2 separate regions of the Homo sapiens genome follow, and region 2 is linked to region 1. The links are contacts of gene promoters, found by promoter capture Hi-C in human tissues and cell types (Jung and others, 2019). All regions are on one chromosome and are shown on one strand. Each heading gives the region's core, a stretch centred on a gene start or on the middle of the fragment in contact. The rest is flanking DNA. Distances are from core to core; before and after follow the strand shown. Region 1 holds the start of B3GNT8 (UDP-GlcNAc:betaGal beta-1,3-N-acetylglucosaminyltransferase 8). Region 2 overlaps BLVRB (biliverdin reductase B).

Evidence for each region. Contacts are between HindIII fragments. The study calls those that stand out against the background at their distance.
Region 2: a fragment that was not itself captured here is called in contact with the fragment with the promoter of B3GNT8 in region 1 in 1 of the 25 tissues and cell types used here (dorsolateral prefrontal cortex).

The regions. Positions count from the first base shown.
Region 1 is chr19:41,425,313-41,430,008 of GRCh38, reverse strand. It overlaps B3GNT8 (UDP-GlcNAc:betaGal beta-1,3-N-acetylglucosaminyltransferase 8), which reads left to right and starts at 2,635. Exons shown (of 2, transcript NM_001385648.2): 1 at 2,635-2,725; 2 at 3,199-4,650. The coding sequence starts at 3,231. The coding sequence ends at 4,424. RefSeq lists silencers at 2,315-2,464, 2,485-2,594. The HindIII fragment of the contact is 6,844 bases long and covers 62-4,696 here.
Region 2 is chr19:40,452,134-40,456,829 of GRCh38, reverse strand. All of the region lies in intron 3 of BLVRB (biliverdin reductase B), which reads left to right. Among named protein-coding and RNA genes, the nearest start is that of SERTAD3-AS1, 10 kb to the right of the region's middle. The HindIII fragment of the contact is 7,951 bases long and covers 1-4,696 here.

The sequences.
Region 1 (4,696 bases), core at 1,386-3,885:
GTCTCTACTAAAAATACAAAAACATTAGCCGGGCATGGTGGCGGGCGTCTGTAGTCCCAGCTACTTGAGAGGCTGAGGCAGGAGAATGGCGTGAACCTGGGAGGTGAGGCTTGCAGTGAGCGGAGATCATGCCACTGCACTCCAACCTGGGTGACAGAGTGAGACTCCGTCTCAAAAAAAAAACCTTGTGATGACCTCACCAGGGGCAGACACCTTGAAAGTGGTCGTCCTTTTTTTTTTTTTTTTTTTTTTGATTAGCGGTAAGATCTCACTATGTTGCCCAGGCTGGTCTTGAACTCCTGGAAAGTGATCCTTCCCTCTTGGCCTCCCAGAGTATTGGGATTACAGGGGTGAGCCACTGTCCCACCACAGTTTTTTTTTTCTTATGGCCAGCTCTTATACAGAAATAACAGATACACCCCATTCTTCTTAAGACTCACCACAGCGCCCCTTGCTGCCTCTAGACCCATAAATACCTAGGGTGAAATCAGCTTGCTCCAGGTGAACAGGTGCCAGCTAGGACCTAGGCGGGAGCAGCTTTTACACTATAAGAATGACAAGGCTTCGCAAATATACAGAGTCAGAAACTTGGGGAATGTGTGCAGAAGGGGATTTTAAGGATGTTACACCAATGAGGGTGGATGTAACACTAGCTCAGGCCAAATTTACTGGCATGAGTGCGCTTTCTAGAGCTTCTGGATTTCATGGGTTACCTTGTGCAGCTGGACGTAGTTCTAATAGCTTGCTTGGGTGCCTAACCGGAACTTGGATCCAACAGTGGCCTAAAGTTAATGAGGCAGAGAGACCAGAACTGCCCTAGCATAAGATGGGTGAGGGGAGTCCCAAGGCTTGGGGAGACAGAAGTGTTGGATTGGAATGATCGTGTTCCACCAGCATGTCCACCCTCCAACCATGTTCCCCAAGAAGGCACCCCTTAGTGGCCAATCCCATGAGAGTTAATCATTCTGTATATTGAACTTTCCCTATTCCCATTCCTGTGTGGTTTCTCTCTCCTGATTGGACCCGGACTGAGGCACATGGCAAAGGCAAAAAGAAAGGCACCTTGTGAAGCTTCCTAATGCTTCCAGGAGGAGCAGCACCCCCTGCCCCCAGAAGCTAGATGAGCTCAGGGGGCCTGGAGTCCCTCTCCCCCAGCCCCAGAGTGGAGTGGGCTTGCAGACTCCCTCAGGAGGTGCTCGGGCCCCTGCCCCCAGCCCCTAGCTGTCATTTCCCACTCCAACTATTATTCCATTAATATTCACCACTTCCTCCCCACTCTCTTCCTCCAGCTGTTCCCACAGGCTCCATTATTCAAACTTTGGGGGAGGAAATCAGGGCTGGACAGATCATCAACTGCTGCTGCTGACAGACTGTGTTCCTGCCATGATGGGGACAGGCCTGCCCCAAACCAGGGTGGAGTGAAGGGGTCAGCCCAGGCTTAGTGGGAGCCCCTTAGTCTTACCCCATGTCTTGGGAGGTCTTCAGAGAGCTGATGCAGTCCCAACAGCAGGGGCCCCTGGAGGGCAGGGATGCAAACACAGGCAGACACCCCCTCCTGCCCCAAGGGGCTGGATGTGAGTGTTCCTGGAGTCACAGTGCCGCTGGGGGAGGGGAGGGGCCCGGGGTGAGGCTGGCTCCAGGCCGGAGGTTGGGGGTAAGGTAGGAACAGATTCCCACGCTGCTGGGCAGGCAGCCCGGGTGCCGAGAGGGATGGAGGAGGTACAGGGGATCAGCTTAGCTCCCGGGGTTCCCCGTGGGCCCCACCCCGTCACCCTCTATTGCCCTTGAAGCTCCAGTCTTTTCCTCTCCTGTTCTTCCCCTTGGCTCCCTCTCCGCCTCTGCCTGGGTCTGGCTCGGAAGCCTGAGTCCCTCCCCTCTGCCCTCCACCTGCCTCTCTCAACCTCTCTTTCCCCATGAGCACCCCACAGGGCTTCCGCAACCCCTTATCTTTCTCGCCATCTCCATTTCCCTCCCCCTCTCCCTCCTGGCCACCTTCCCACTTGCCCGTCTTCTCTCTCTCTCCCCCTCAGCTCTCTCCATCGCCTGTCTCACCCCAGTTCTCCTCTCTCTGCTCCCTGGCCGTCTCTTCCCTCTCCACAATGTCTCTGTCTCTCCTTCTCCTCACCAGCCCCGTTCCCCCCACCTCACCCTGACTGGGCAGCAACAACAAACATCCCTCTGGCAGGCCCGCCGATCCCTTCCCACTCAGCACATTCACTGCCGCCTCCTGGCCATGGGTGCAGCCGGGCGCCAGCCTCTCAGCCTCCCCATCTCTGCCTCAGTGGGACCCTGCCTCGCCCTGGTCACTCTAACACTCCCCAGCCCAGGCCCAGCCTTCAGCCCCACCCTCCCTGGCACCCCCTGGCCCTGGTTCTCCCCTCCCAGGCCTCACAAAGCCCCCGTCTTGTTTCTGTGGCTGCCCCCTGCACCCTTCCCAGCTGTCTCACCAGAAACCAGCCCTAACACGCCAGAGCCCCATCTCTCAGGTCGGCCTCCTGCCCTCCTCCCTCCCTCCCTCCCTCCCTCTCTCCTGCCTCAGCCCCGCCCCGGCCCCTGGGGCCCTCCCTGCTCCCGCTCCACTCCCCTCCCCGCCCCTCTGGACTGGCTGGGCAGGGCTGGGCCCCGCCGGTCGACAACACAGGGGCTGGGGCAGGCAGATCAGAGGGAGCTGAGGGAGGCCTGACCTGAGGCCGGCACCCGGAGCTGGCGGGAGCCAGACCCAGAGGTAAAAAAGCATGGGATCCCTGGTTCCCCAGTCCCTGGGGTTGGGGTGTTGCGGGAGGCAGGCTGGGTTTCTAACCCCAGGGAGCTAGGAATCCCGCTCCTGATTTCCTGGTGAGGGCAATAAATGGAGGGAGAGGGAGGAGATAGACGGCAAGGTCCCTTGTCCTGGATGGAGACAGGGAAGAGGTAGACCCTTGGGCTTTTAGGAAGGTGGAAGCATTTGGACGGAGTGGGAAGAACAGGGTGCTGGTACGGGATTGGAATGGGGGACTCCTAGGTCTAGGAATAAGGACCAACGAGGTCCCTGGGTCAGGGGAGCTGTTTAGGATCTGGGACCGAGAGAATCTGTTATGGGGGTTGGCGGGGACTATGGGAGATTGTGAAGCTGTCTGCCTGGGGCCTGGCTGGGCCCTCTCTGGAGGCCCATCCCCACACCCCAATGGCCTCCGTGGCTCCCCTGTGGCTCCCTTGTAGCTCCCGCGGCCGCCCCTTCCCTGGGCCGGGTCATGCGCTGCCCCAAGTGCCTTCTCTGCCTGTCAGCACTGCTCACACTCCTGGGCCTCAAAGTGTACATCGAGTGGACATCCGAGTCCCGGCTCAGCAAGGCCTACCCCAGCCCTCGGGGCACCCCGCCAAGCCCCACGCCAGCCAACCCTGAGCCCACCCTACCTGCCAACCTCTCCACCCGCCTGGGCCAGACTATCCCGCTGCCCTTTGCTTACTGGAACCAGCAGCAGTGGCGGCTGGGGTCCCTGCCCAGTGGGGACAGCACTGAAACGGGGGGCTGCCAGGCTTGGGGGGCCGCCGCCGCCACCGAGATCCCTGACTTCGCCTCCTACCCCAAGGACCTCCGCCGCTTCTTGCTGTCAGCAGCCTGCCGGAGCTTCCCACAGTGGCTGCCTGGAGGTGGTGGCAGCCAAGTCTCCAGCTGCTCAGATACTGATGTCCCCTACCTGCTGTTGGCCGTCAAGTCAGAACCAGGGCGCTTTGCAGAACGACAGGCCGTGAGAGAGACGTGGGGCAGTCCAGCTCCAGGGATCCGGCTGCTCTTCCTGCTAGGGTCTCCGGTGGGTGAGGCGGGGCCTGACCTAGACTCACTAGTGGCCTGGGAGAGCCGTCGCTACAGTGACCTGCTGCTCTGGGACTTCCTCGACGTCCCATTCAACCAGACGCTCAAAGACCTGCTGCTGCTGGCCTGGCTGGGCCGCCACTGCCCCACCGTGAGTTTTGTCTTGCGAGCTCAGGACGATGCCTTTGTACACACCCCTGCCCTGCTGGCTCACCTGCGGGCCCTGCCACCTGCCTCGGCCCGAAGCCTCTACCTGGGTGAGGTCTTTACCCAGGCCATGCCTCTCCGGAAGCCAGGAGGACCCTTCTATGTGCCCGAGTCCTTCTTCGAAGGTGGCTACCCAGCCTATGCAAGCGGGGGTGGCTACGTCATTGCCGGGCGCCTGGCACCCTGGCTGCTGCGGGCGGCAGCCCGTGTGGCACCCTTCCCCTTTGAGGACGTCTACACTGGCCTTTGCATCCGAGCCCTGGGCCTGGTGCCCCAGGCCCACCCAGGCTTCCTCACAGCCTGGCCAGCAGACCGCACTGCGGACCACTGTGCTTTCCGCAACCTGCTGCTGGTACGGCCCCTGGGCCCCCAGGCCAGCATTCGGCTCTGGAAACAACTGCAAGACCCAAGGCTCCAGTGCTGACTCTCATTGGGGAGGGCGGAGGTGCTGACCTGGCCTGGGCCTCTGGGGCCGGCCCCTGGCTCAGCCCCTCCTTCCAGGTCTTGATGGGAGGGAGGAGGGCCCAGAAGCTGGACAACTTAAGCCACTCCTTGGCCTCCCCCAGCCAGGGGCCTGGGCAGGAAAGATGGGGTGGTGGACTGTTTTTGCCTACTTTTTGTTTTTGAAAAACATGCACTCCCCACTCTGAGGCCTGGGGTTGTTTTTGCATCTGTGGGGCCCTGGAGTGGTGGGGA
Region 2 (4,696 bases), core at 783-3,282, 970 kb after region 1:
GCCTGGGACCAAGATCGTGGCCCACAGTGATTCTCCTGCCCCAGCCTCCTGAGTAGCTGGGATTACCGGCGCCTGCCACCATGCCCTGCTAATTTTTGTATTTTTGGTAGAGACAAGGTTTTGCCATGTTGGCCAGGCTGATGTTGAACTCCTGGCCTCAAGCAGTCCTCCCACCTCAGCCTTCCAAAGTGCTGAGATTACAGGTATAAGCCACCACGTCCAGACTCTCCCATGTCTTAAAAACCAATTTAACTGGTTAAGTTTTGCTTCCATGAAAAAGACAAACCTGTAAAATTGATTTAATTTGCTTTCTTTTTTCTCATTTTTTTTTGTTTAGATTGTTTTCTAAATATTAAAGTCTTAGGTGTGCCAGGATTTTTTTTTTCATTAAAAAAAAAACAAACATAGAGACAAGGTCTCGCTCTGTCACCCAGGCTGGAGTGCAGTGGCCTGATCATAGCTCATTGTACCCTTGAACCCCTGGGCTCAAGGAATCCCCTCACTTTAGCCCCTCAAATAGCTGGGGCAACAGGTATGAGCCATTGAGTCCAGCTTAACTTTTTATCTGGAAATGATCTTAAACTTACAGAAAAATTGAAAGGACACCAGTACACCTACCGTCCTCTGTTCACAGACACACAATGTTTTTTTTCTGACCCATTTGAAGTTAGCTTACATACATCATGGCTGCTTACTTCAATGTGTAGGTCCTCAATATACTTTTTAACTTTTTATTATAAAAATTTTTAAACAGAAAAGTTAATAGTCGTGTGAACAACCATATTCCTTTTCTTTTTTTATTTTTAAGTTTGTAGCTATCTATCTATTTATTTATTTATTTTGAGACCGGGTTATAAGGCTGGCTAATTTTTGTATTTTTGGTAGAGATAGAGTTTCGCCATGTTGCCCAGGCTGGTCCCGAACTCCCGGACTCAAGCGATCCACCAGCCTCAGCCTCCCAAAGTGCTGGGATTACACCTGAGCCACTGCACCTGGCCAACAGCCATATTCCTGATTTTAAAATTGTGATTGTGTTTTGTAATTGGTTTATCTATGCACATACACATACACAAATAGATTTTGTTTTTGTTCTCCTAAACTATTTGGGTTTTTTGTTTGTTTGTTTTTATTTGAGACAGAGTCTCATTCTGTCACCCAGGCCGGAATACAGTGGCGTGATCTTGGCTCACTGCAACATCCACCTCCTGGGTTCAAGGGATTCTCCTGCCTCAGCCTCCTGAGTAGCTGGGATTACAGGTGCCTGCCACCACATCTGGTTAATTTTGTGTGTGTGTATTTTTAGTATAGATGGGGTTTCACCATATTGGGCAGGCTGGTCTGACCTCAAGTGATCTGGCCTCCCAAAGTGCTGGATTACAGGCATGAGCCACTGCGCCCAGACTTCCTAAACTATTTGAAATGGAGTTGCACACCCACAGACACCTTCGGCAAGTCCCAAGAAAAAGGACTTTTCTCTTCCAGCACCACAGTGCTATTGTCACACTTTAATTATCTTCCAGCCTCTAATTATTAGAGTTTAATCTTCCCTCCATATTCAAATGTCAAGGTAAAAGATTAGAAAGATTTTTGTCATCTAAGGAGCTTGGAGTTTATCCATTAGGGCTTGGGGAGGATTGTTTTTTATGGAGGCATCTGAGAGGATTAGAAAGAAACCCAGAGTAAGGCCAGGCACAGTGGCTCACGCCTGTAATCCTAGCACTTTGAGAGGCCAAGGTGGGCGGATTGCTTGCGTCCAGGAGTGCAGGACCAGTCTGGGCAACACAGCAAAACTCCATCTCTACAAAAAAAAAATACAAAAAATTAGCTGGGTGTGGTGGTACACACCTGTGGTCCCCAATACTTGGGAAGCTTAGGTAGGAGGATCCTTTGAGCCTAGAAGGCAGAGGTTGCAGTGAGCCGTGATGGCACCACTGCACTCCAGCCTTGGCTGCAGAGCAAGACCCTGTCTCAAAACACAACAAAACAGCCGGGTGCTGTGGCTCACGCCTGTAATCCCAGCACTTTGGGAGGCCAAGGTGGGTGGATCACGAGGTCAGGAGATTGAGACCATCCTGGCTAACACAGTGAAACACCGTCTCTACTAAAAATACAAAAAATTAGCCAGGCGTGGCGGCGGGTGCCTATAGTCCCAGCTACTCGGGAGGCTGAGGCAGGAGAATGGCGTAAACCCGGGAGGAGGAGCTTGCAGTGAGCTGAGATCGTGCCACTGCACTCCAGCCTGGGTGACAGAGCGAGACTGCCTCAAAAAAAAAAAGAAAAAAGAAACTAGGGGTAAGTTAGAGACTGGATTTGAGATTGTGAACTGGAGACTGGAGGCTGCAGACAAAAACCCACTTCACACTCTGCACCGCAGTTTTCTCATCTGTAAAGAGGAAATCCTAGACCAGGCGCAGTGGCTCACGCTGTAATCCCAGCACTTTAGGAGGCTAAGGCAGGTGGATCGCTTGAGGTCAGGAGTTCGAGACCAGCCTGGCCAACATGGTGAAACCCCGTCTCTACCAAAAATACAAAAACTAGCCAGGTGTGGTGGCACACGCCTGTAATCCCAGCTACTCAGGAGGCTTAGGCAGGAGAATCACTTGAAACTTGTAGGTGGAGGTTGCAGTGAGAATGATGTCATCATAGCTCGCTACCGCCTCCAACTCCTAGGCTCAAGGGATCCTCCTGAGTAGCTGAGACCACAGGCATGTGCCACCATGCCCATCTAATTTTTAAAATTTTTTTGTTGCGACAGAGTCTGGCTTTGTTGCCCAGGCTGGTCTCTGTGACACACCTTTTTATAACCACTAACATTACTCAAACTATTTATTTATTTCTTTTTGTTGAGACAAGGTCTTGCTCTGTTGTCCAGGCTGGAGTGCAGCGGTGCAATCACAGCTCACTGCAGCCTCGAACTCCTGAGCTCAAGCGATCCTCTCGCCTCAGCCTTCTAAGCAGCTAAGACCACAGGTCCCCACGCCTGGCTAATTTTTTAATTTTCTGTAGAGACAGGTCTCACCATCGTACCCAGGTGAGTCTAGAACTGCTGGGCTCAACTGATCCTCCTACCTCAGCCTCCCAAAGTGCTGGGATTACAGGTGTGAGCCACTCTGCCCAGCCTTTGAACAATTTATATCATCCCAGTTTGCACATGAGGAAACAAGAAGCTGGCCAGTGGTCGATCCAGTACTTGACTTTAGGCAAAACCCAAGCTCTTTAACTATTCACCAAACTGCTCCTAAAAATATTTAGCATAGTTCTTGGCTTGAGGTAAAAGTTCTATAAATGTCAGCTGGTGTAGCTTGGCCAAGTTATAGCTTGTTGAAAGCTAATTCCTGAACAAATATTTAGTAAGTACCTACAATGTTCCAGATGCTTCTAAGGGCTGGGATTGGAGCAGGAAATGTGATAGAGTCACAGGATAACTCTAGCGTGTGGTGGCAGGGGAAGGGTCCTAGGGAGAAAACAAGGCCCCAAGAAAAGGGATTGGTAAACTGGGCTGGGGGAGACAGGATTTTGCAATTTTAAACAGGACAGTCAAGAAAAGCTGCATGGAAAGGTGACCTTTGAGCAAAGTCTGCAAAGAAAACAGGGAGCCATGTGGCTACGAGAGGGAAATGGCAAAGGGTCCTGGGTCACACCTGTAATCGCAGCATTTTAGGAGGTCGAGATGGAAGGATCGCTTAAGCCCGGGAGTTCAAAACTAGCCTGGGCAACTTGGTAAGACCTCCATCGCTACAAAAAAAATGTTTTTTTCTTTTTCTTTTGAGACGGAGTCTTGCTCTGTCACCCAGGCTGGAGTGCAATGGCACGATCTCGGCTCACTGCAACCTCTGCCTCCCAGGTTCAAGGGATTCTCCTGCCTCAGCTTCCTGAGAATAGCTGGGATTACAGGCATGCACCACGACACCTGGCTAATTTTTGTGTTTTTTTTGTTTTGTTTTGTTTTGTTCTGCTTTGTTTTTGAGATGGAGTCTTGCTCTGTCTCCCAAGCTGGAGTGCCGTGGCGCGATCTCAGCTCACTGCAACCTCCGCCTCAAGGGTTCCAGCAATTCTCCAGCTTCAGCCTCCTGAGTAGCTAGGACTACAGGCATGCACCACCATGCCCAGCTAACTTTTGTATTTTTACTAGAGATGGGGTTTCACCATGTTGGCCAGGCTGGTCTCGAACTCCTAACCTCAGGCGATCTGGCCTCCTCAGTCTCCCAAAGTGCTGGGATTACAGGGGTTAGCCACCAGACCCGGCCTAAAAAAATTTTTTAAATTAGCCAGGCTTGGCCGGTATCATGCCATTGCACTGCAGCCTGGGTGGCAAGAGGGAAGGAAACTCTGTCTCAAAAAAAAAAAAAAATAGTGGGGTTTGGTGGCTCACCCCTGTGGTCCCAGCTCCTCAGGAGGCTAAGGCAGGAGGATCACTTCAGCCCAGAAAGTCAAGGCTGCAGTGAGCCGTGTTCACGCCACTGTCCTCCAGCCTGGACAACAGAATGAGACCCTGTCTCAGAGAAAATAAAAAAGAGAGGGAAATGCATCAGGGGCAGAGGAATCAGACATTGCCAAGGCTGGGAGGCAGAACCTGGCTGGAGCAGAGGCGTGTAAGAGAGAGTGGTAGGCAGAGTAGGCAAGGACGTCAGAGGGCTGATGGGGCCATATCAGGTGGGGCCTTGAGGGCTGGCCATGGGGACTTTGCTTCTACCCT